Regions from separate parts of the Homo sapiens genome. Here region 1 is linked to region 2. The links are contacts of gene promoters, found by promoter capture Hi-C in blood cells and fetal thymus (Javierre and others, 2016). All regions are on one chromosome and are shown on one strand. Each heading gives the region's core, a stretch centred on a gene start or on the middle of the fragment in contact. The rest is flanking DNA. Distances are from core to core; before and after follow the strand shown.

Region 1 (4,842 bases), core at 1,966-4,465, 130 kb after region 2:
CTCCTGCCTCAGCTTCCAGAGTAGCTAGGATGACAGGTGCCTGCCACCACGCCGAGCTAATGTTTTGTATTTTTGGTAGAGATGGGGTTTCACCATGTTAGCCAGGCTGGTCTCGAACTCCTGATCTCGGGTGATCCTCCCCCATCAGCCTCCCAAAGTGCTAGGATTACAGGCGTGAGCCACCGTGCCCGGCCGTGCCAGGGTTTTCTATTGAGTTTCTTGCCAAGGGTGACTTCCAATAACAATCCCCCCCTGCACTTTGCTTAGTTCTGGAAAGCTCAGGCCGCACAGGGTGAATAAAAGCCTGAGTAGTGCAGTCCCCATGGAGGGGCAGGGGTGCCACAAGGTGGGCAGCAGCTGGGATGGGCATTGTGAGGCACTGGGGGGGCTGTGGGGCTGGACATGGTGAGTCACTAGCCTGACCTGTTTCCTGGTAACCAGGTGACATAGGAAGCTTTGTGGGTTATAGGCATTAGCCAGGCCAGCAGCCCTCAGTCGGTAGCTGGCAGTGGAGGGAGGAGGAGCTCCGACTGTGCTCTTTGACGGCAGTTTTTGTGCCTCTTGGCGCTTGTCGTGTTTCTTTTTGAGGTAAAACAGTAGGTCCCCGACCTCATAGACCATCCAGTTTGGGAGGTGGCGGCAGACTACGGGCTGAGGCCCCAGATCTGCCTGGGGTCAGGCTGCTTCTACAAGTGCAGGGCCACCCTCAGTAGTGTGGCTGCTAGGGCAGCACAGTTACAATTTCATCGAAGGCTCAGGCAGGAGTGGAGAGGAGTGTAGGTGCCCCACGGGGAATATACTGACCTGTCGTGTGTGCCCCAAAGTCAGCTCCGACTGTGGCTGGCCCAGGGGGAAGGCAGCATCCAGTTATGAATCTGATATTTATGAGGCCGTGGCTGCTGCAACATCAGAATCCACTACCGTAGAGCCTGGCAAGCTGGATGTGGGAGCCACGGAGGGCCAAGACCTGCAGCACATCAGCAACCAAAAGATGCCCACAGGTAAAAAAGCCACGGGTGCCGTTTACCCTCTGGCACACCTCTGGCCACCCCCACCCCCTTCCCTTACCCTCATCCCCAGAGACATCCTCAGCTTCCAGCTCCCTCCTGTCCATAGCCAGCTTTCCCAGGTCTGGGCATGGGGGACAAAGGCTGGCTCTGCCTCTTGCCTTAGACATTGAGGCTTTTTTGATCTAGTCTCTCCCTTTTCTCAATGAAAATTCAAATACCCCAATTTTGGAGTCCCCATCCCATTCTCTAGCCTCACCTATCCGGCCGGTTTGGTACCTAAATGAAGGAACCAGCTAAGGGTCAGATTGTTACTTTTCTCCCAACCCTTAAAGTAGCTAATAATTGGGATAATTCAGGCCCAAATATTTGGATTTTTTGTTTTTTTTTTTTTGAGATGGAGTCTCACTCTGTTGTCCAGGCTGGAGGGCAGAGGCATGATCTCAGCTCACTGCCACTTCTGCCTCCCGGGTTCAAGCAATTCTTCTGCCTCAGCCTCCTGAGTAGCTGGGACTACAGGCACGTGCCACCACACCTGGCTAATTTTTTGTATTTTTAGTACAGGTGGGTTTCACCGTGTTAGCCAGGATGGTCTCTATCTCCTGACCTCATGATCCACCTGCCTCGGCCTTCCAAAGTGTTGGGATTACAGGCGTGAGCCACTGCGCCCGGCTGGAGATTTCTTAAATTCAAAATTCAAAATTATTATTTTTTGAGACAAGGCCTCATTTTGTCACCCAGGAATGCATTGGTGCAATGACAGCTCACTGCAACCTTGACCTCCTCAGGTTCAGGTGTTCCCCCCACCTCAGGCTCCCAAGTAACTGGCACTAAGGCATCATGCCAAGCTAATTTTTCTATTTTTTTTTTTTTGTATAGATGGGGTTTCATCATGTTGCCCAGGCTTGGTTCACTTTTAATAGTAAAGGACACCTCAAATGTTTAGATATTTGCTTTCACTTTGGGCAATTATGAATATAGCTATTAAAAACCTTGCTGTGTCTTGTTTAAAAATTATGTTTCCAAAATATAACTAAGGAAATACTTAGGATTATAATTACTTGCTTGTATGGTAAGACCAGGTTTTTCTTTGTAAGAATTTTGGGGCTGGGCACGGTGGCTCACGCCTGTAATCCCAGCACTTTGGGAAGCTGAGGCGGGTGATCACGAGGTCAGGAGATCAAGACCATCCTGGCCAACATGGCGAGACCCCGCCTCCACTAAAAATACAAAAATCAGCTGGGCGTGGTGGCCTGTGCCTGTAATCCCAGCTACTTGAGAGGCTGAGGCAGGAGAATCGCTTGAACCAGGGAGTCAGATGTTGCAGTGAGCCGAGTTCGCGCCACTGCACTCCAGCTTGGTGACAGAGCAAAACTGCGTCGCAAAAAACAACAACAAAAAAGAATTTTGGTAGAATTTTTTTTTTTTTTTTTTAACCAGTGAAATCATATGAATGTAGTGTTTTTGGTTTTTCCTTCTTTTGAAAGATTATTAATCATTGCTTCAATTTCTAAAATAAATATAGGCCTATTCAGATGATCTATTTTTCCCCAGAAGACTTTTGGTCTTCTAAAATCGATAAAAAGGAATGAGCTCATTTCATCTATGTATCAAATTGTGGGCATAGATGTGTTCAGAATATTCCTTTATTATTTTTTGATTTAACTGCTCTTCAATTGATGCTATTAGTACATTGTAACATCTTTCTTTCCTTTGTGGTTAGCCAAGGTAGAGGTTTATCAATGGTACTGATCTCAAAGAACTGGCTTTTTGTTTTATTGATTTTCTCGGATGATTTTCTGTTTTCTATTCCATTGATTTCTGCAAGAATTGTTTTTTAAGCTTAGAGTATGAATTTAGATTTTTCTCATTATTGACACCGCGTCATGAATGTAGTTCACTGAATTCAATCTCACTGAAATGTACACTAAATAATTAAAATAATATGTATGCTTCACCATAATTTAAAAAGTAAAACACGATAGGTGATAAATGTAGTAGCAGGATATGTAAATCCACAGAATTAAATGGTCTTGTAACATTTTGAAAAATGAGGGGATTGGCCTGGACCTTCAAATGGGCAGGAGGTGTGAGGAGATGCTCTCACAGAACCATACAGTGCCTTTCTGTATTAATCAGTTCTTAACGCTAATATTTCACATTTCTCCTCCTCTCCTTTGCTTTCCTTCCACACCAAAGAGAATGGTCCAGCAGCAGCTCAGTCCATGCTTGTCAACCACCCACCTCCATAGACTTCAGCGCTGGTCCCCACATCCCCCAAGGCTCCTAGTGGGATTCCTGAGAAGCACCAATGCACTGACTATTACTCTATGTTCTCCTAGCTTCTGTTCTGGACCTGGAAGATATTGCGCTTGATATTGCGGAGGAGGTGTTATCTGAAATGGTGAGATGCATTCCTTCATCTGGAAGAGAATTTTTTTTTTTTCTGGGGCTTCTTCCCTTATTAATGAAATGAAGACATAAAAGTCTGACCATATACATAACAGATGACTAAGACAATTTTCTTGGTGGGGGGAATATCAAGTGAATATCATTTTTGATTGCCATTGTCAATCAAGCTTCAGTTGATCAAGCTTCAGTTGGTCATGGACTCTAGTGACCAGCCATGAGTTTATGAACAACTGAGGCCTAATTGATGATGACAGTAAAAAATGACAGCATTACCTACAAACTGTCTGGTAGTGAGCATATTTTTTAGTAGCAACTTTTTCTTCTTGAAAAATAATTTTGTATTTGCCAGCCAACATGGACTTGCAAATATTCCATGAAAACCCATTGCCCAAAATTCCTACCGTATGTATTTATTATTTTTAAAAAAAGCTTTATTGAGAAATAGTTGACATGCAAAACAATTCACCCATTTAAAGTGGGTGATTCAGTGTTTTTACTGTATTTACAGGGTTGTGCAACCATTGTACAATCTCATTTTAGAACGTTTTCATTCCTCCACGAAGAAACCCTGTATCCATTAGTGGTTACTCCTCTCTTTTTCCAACCCCCACACCTCTGGCGATAGGAAGCCACTCATCTACTTTCTATTGCTGTAGATTTGCCTACTCCGGCCGTTTCTTTTTTAACTTGTTTTTTTTTTTTTTTTTTTTAAGTTCTGAGATACATGTGCAGGATGTACAGGTTTGTTACATAGGTAAAAGTGTGCCATGGTGGTTTGCTGCACCTGTCAAACCATCACCTAGGTATTAAGCCCTGCATGCATTTGCTGTTTATCCAGATGCTCTCCCTTCCCCTGCCCCGACAGGCCCGAGTGTGTCTTGTTCTCTTCTCTAACACCGTATATATCCTAAGACCACTCCCTTGCTGATACAAATCTAAGTGATGGGTTGTGGGGGGCTCTATTCCCTGCTTTTGTCTGGAGAGCCTGCCTGGCCTCAGGTTCCTGATAGGAGTGAGGACCTGGAGTGCACTGTGAGAAACAGATGGCTCAGTGAAGAACTGTCATCATCCACTGGAGTCCCTGGAAACAGCCGTATCATTTAGATGGTGTGGGTTTGTGTGCATGAGGGTTGGGAGTTAGCTAGGGATGAATTAATGTGTAGTGATTGTGAATGTGTTTGTAAATGTGTGTTTTTCCCCTAAAATGTGGACCCGCATGCCCAGCACAGTGCAAGTGTCAGTTTTCTTGAATTCCTGGCCTATGGTGGTTCTCTCACCTCAGCCTCCCGAGTCATGTCATTCTTCTAATAAAAAGGAAGAAAAACTTCAACACCACCATACACTTTACATAAATGACCTCTTTACTCCCTCACCACAGCTGTACCTGAAGGTCAGTTTAATATCCCTACTCCTTATATGGAGA
Region 2 (4,358 bases), core at 275-2,774:
GAACTCGTCCAAGGTCACACACATCTGCCTGACTCAGAGTCCAGCTGTCATCCACAGCATCTCACCACCATCTCCCTCTAGGGGGTACAGGGTAACTGTGTTTTTGTTTGTTTGTTTGTTTTTTGAGACGGAGTCTTGCTCTGTTGCCCAGGCTGGAGTGCAGTGGTGCGATCTCAGCTCACTGCAAGCTCTGCCTCCTGGGTTCACACCATTCTCCTGCCTCAGCCTCCCATGTAGCTGGGACTACAGGCACCCGCCACCACACCTGGCTAATTTTTTGTGTTTTTAGTAGAGACAGGGTTTCACCGTGTTAGCCAGGATGGTCTCGAGCTCCTGACTTCGTGATCCGCCTGCCTCGGCCTCCCAGAGTGTTGGGATTACAGGCGTGAGCCACCGCGCCCGGCCTGTAACTGGGTTTTATGCTGACTTGAGGATTTTAGCCAAAAACAAATACCAACAACAACAAAAGAAAACCTTGTTAACTCACTCCTTTGCTCCAATATAATTTTATTCATAAAATAATCACTTATTAGATATTGATTACAGGCAAAATTATACTTTGTTAGACACTTAAAAAATTCCTGGAAGCTGGGTGCAGTGGCACGTGCCTGTAGTTCCGGTTATTCAGGACACTGAGGAGAAAGGATTGCTTGAGCCCAGGAGTTTGAGTCCAGCCTGGGCAATGTAGCAACAACCTATCTCTAAAAAATAAAATAAAAATACCTGGATCTACCTTTTTTCTTTGGTCATAAATAAGTTGACTGTGATGGTCACTTTTATTTCTATTGAGGCTAAGATCCCAGGTCCTGGAGCAGGCCAGCCCCTTCTCTCTGCTGTGTGATTCTGAGTAAATGGGTTCACCTCTCTGAACTCAGTTTCTCCATGTATAAAGTGGAATCAGAATTCCTCCCCTAAGGATGGCTGGATGAGAATTCCATACAATGCTTGTGAAGCTGGCACAATGCCTTGCGTGTAGTAGGTGTTCAAGAAATGGTAGCTATTATTCGTGCGTGTCTTCTACATGAAGAAAGTCAGTCTGTGAGTTCTGTGACGGCATCCTATGGAAACGGTTGGGTGGATTTGCGCCCAAGTTGGAGAGTATGGTTAGCGTGATCTGACTTAAAACTTAGGCCACATGGCACATGGAAACTGGAGAGTGTCTGGGGTCCCTCACTTTAAGAACTAGAATTTTTCCAAAGGTTGCGTGTGACTCAATAGGAAATGGTGACCCCAAGAAACCAAAGAAAGGGAGTTGGTGGTTGTGGGGAGACACGGGAGAGCTGCACACCGTGCCCCTTGCCTGGCGCTGCTGGGCTTCCCACAAAGCCAGTGAGGTTCATCTGTCCCCAGGAAGTCATCAGAGACGGTGGCTGAGGAGACAGGCACTGGGGGCCTCCGTGGACCCGCTATTGGAGTGAAGTGGCCTGGATGGAATTGGGTGGACAGGGTGCTGCCTCAGCAGGCTGGGATGTGCTGGGCTGTCAGAAAGTGCTCATAAATAGCATGCCCCTTGCGAAGACAGGCGAGTCTGCAGACGGCCGTGGCTCCTCTGTTCTTCCCGAGGCTACAGCAACAGGTTCATTCTGGGATGGGTTGGGGGTGGGGAGGCAAAAGCCACCCTGGCAGGCCCGGACCTTTTGTAGTTTCTGTGGGACGCGCATGGCTGACCGCCTGCAAAGAAAAACAGCGCCTCCCTTAAGGGTCAGGTCCCAGTGAGAGGACCCTGACAGCCCAGCTGGGGGTGGAACGAGGGACCCTTGTCTGCAGTGGCCAGGGTCCAAGCCCCTGGACATGTGCTTAGGGCAGGGGACCTTCCAAAACAGCTCCTCTGAGGGAGGGGAGTGGGCACACATGGTACCTGCCAAGTCCCCCGAGAGTCCCCTGTGAGCTGGACCAAGCCCTGTTTCCTGCTGAGGCTAGGAGAGACAGAACCGACAGCCCGCAGGCTGTGCATGGTTAGGCCCACATCCAGAGTATGTGGGCTGTGCAGCTGTGCATGCTGGGGTGGCCGTGCTGGGAGCCGTGGGTGGGTAACAGTTGGATGTGGGGTGTAGATGTAGGTGCCTTGTTTACCACTGTGGATGTCTGAAATGGGCAGGGATGTGTGTGTGTGAGGAGAGAGAGAGAGAGAGAGAAAGAAGCTGTCCTGTGAGCCCATGGGTGAAATATAACTGATAGTGACCATAGAAACTTTTGCGAGTGTGTGCACCTATGTGTGTGTGCTGACAAACAGAACAGTCCTGTGTGTGTCCATGGGTGCAACAATGATGAGAATCCTTCCATGTGACTGCGGCAGGGGCCTGTATTGCGTGTCACTGTCCCTGTAGCAATGAAGAACTGTCGGTGTCTGGGTCTTGAAGTGGCTGGTACACAGTCGTGTTCAATAAATGCTTAAGGAATGAGTAACCGAACGCAGGGAAACTGACCTGGAGCAGGTGTCCAACGACCTGGTCTTACAAGCCTTTTCTCTAGAGGTCTGTCTGTCCACCTCCCGACATATGGGGTCTCCTGTCCCTCCTGGTCACCCAGCCCAGAGCCTGGCACTGTGTAGGTGCTCATGGAATATTTGTTGAATAAAGTAACCAGTGAACAAAAGAGTTCCTGGAGTACGGAGGTGGGAGAGACCCCTGTAGAGGAAACTCCCTGAAGCCCACCCTTTAGCCAGGTTCTGGGGGTGGGACATCTGCAGAGAGCTCTGAGAAACCTGGGTTTCGGGGAGCATCTGGATCAGGGGAAAAGGGCACGGGCTTTGGAGCCAGGCCCGACCCAGGCCACTTCCTCACTGTGTGCTTGAGGAAGTGGCCTCACTTTGCTGAGCCTCAGAGTTCCCCTCTGTACAATGGGGCTCCTGATCCCACTGTCTCAGTCCACGTGGCCCATGGCAGGTGCTCAATGGATGTTTGCTGAATGACTGAATGTCGATCATAAGTTACAGCCACGCCCCATGGGCAGCAAGGCTCTGTAGCTCATCCTGGACTCCAGTCACATCAACACCTGGCTTCTCCCGGGTGGATCCAGTGAACCATTTTCTTTTGGTTTGAAGCCAGAGGTGTTCCTGGGGAGATGGCGGAACAGCACGGAGCACCCGAACAGGCTGCAGCTGGCAAGAGCCATGGAGACCTTGGGGGCAGCTACAAGGTACTGGGCAGGGAGGGGGTCAGAGGGCCCAGGCTACTCCTGGGCCTCAGGGTCATCTTCCCAGCCAAGCAGCACCTCTGCAGGAAGGAAGAGCCATCCTTCCAACCACCCAGGCCAGGACAAAACGCTCCGGGTGGGTCCTCTCACTGCCACCCTCCCGTTAGAAACTTGCTTCATGACTTTGCTGCATCTTCCCTCGTCTGCAAAACAGAAATGGTCACCCACATCCTGCCTGCACCAATGGATCAGAGAGGCCCGGGGGTTTCTGGAAACGGCTCTGAGCTCTGACTCTCCTGTCTGACCTCAGCCTGGTGTCTTGCCCACTCTGGGGAAAAGGGCACAGGGTTTGGAGGCTCTCTGGGCCTCAACAGCCCCATGTTTGAAATGAGGATGGTGCCCAGATATTGTGCCCAGAGTTGGTGTAAAGGCTGAAAGACATGAGTGAAGCCAGCTAGCAGAGGGAGGCACACTAGAAATCTGAGAGAAGGTTTGAATGTGTTGGCTCTGCCCTTTCCAAACCATCTCCGGGGTCTTTTTGGGAAACTATTCCAGACAGAGTCTAAGGATGGGTCGAATCCCAGTGCCTCCTCTTAACTTGCTGTGCAGCCCGAGGCAAGTATCTTACCCTTTCTGAGCTTCTTTGATCCCTTCTGTAAAATGACTAGAACAGATGTTCCCTGGGGATCTTCTACAAAGTCAGTTTGTGTTTCCAGGTGGGTGAGAGAGGCAAAACCTTGGTCTGCCTTTGCAGCCCTTCTCTTCCTAGGCTTGGGGCAGGCAGAGGTCTTCCCCGAGACTGCAAACAGGTGTTTTCATTTTTTTAAGGGGGAAATTTCCTATTAAGGAAAATACAGATTTCTGACCTCTCTTGAAAAAATTGGAACTGGGACCTCATTCCCTCATCGCCAGAAGCAGCTTCATTTCCCCACCGACCTCTCGGGTTATTTCAGTCCGCTGGACTCCCCACCTGGCTCCTGCTGGACATCAGAGTTGCAATCACTAGTTTAATTGGTCTCATTGAAGTTCCTGAAGGCGTTTCCCTCCATGACCATTAGAGGGCAGTGCAGGCCCACCTCAGTGCCAGCTCCAGGCTGGAGAGATGCAGAAAGCAGAGGGTACCTCCCTCTAATGCCCAAAGGAGGGGCAGAGGCTGGAGCTGGGAGCCTAGCAGAGGTGGGATGTTTAGGACTCTGCTCTTCTAGGTGATCTTGTACGAACTA

What was found. The method cuts DNA at HindIII sites, captures the fragments that hold promoters and counts their contacts. A CHiCAGO score of 5 or more calls a contact.
Region 1: a contact is called between a fragment that was not itself captured here and the fragment with the promoter of CRYBB3 in region 2, in 2 of 17 cell types (M1 macrophages and endothelial precursors). The highest score is 6.1, in M1 macrophages.

The regions. Positions count from the first base shown.
Region 1 is chr22:25,326,738-25,331,579 of GRCh38, forward strand. No RefSeq gene overlaps it. Among named protein-coding and RNA genes, the nearest start is that of CRYBB2, 110 kb to the left of the region's middle. The HindIII fragment of the contact is 737 bases long and covers 2,848-3,584 here.
Region 2 is chr22:25,198,334-25,202,691 of GRCh38, forward strand. It overlaps CRYBB3 (crystallin beta B3), which reads left to right and starts at 1,525. Exons shown (of 6, transcript NM_004076.5): 1 at 1,525-1,576; 2 at 3,044-3,138; 3 at 4,341-4,358. The coding sequence starts at 3,064. The HindIII fragment of the contact is 15,596 bases long and covers 1-4,358 here.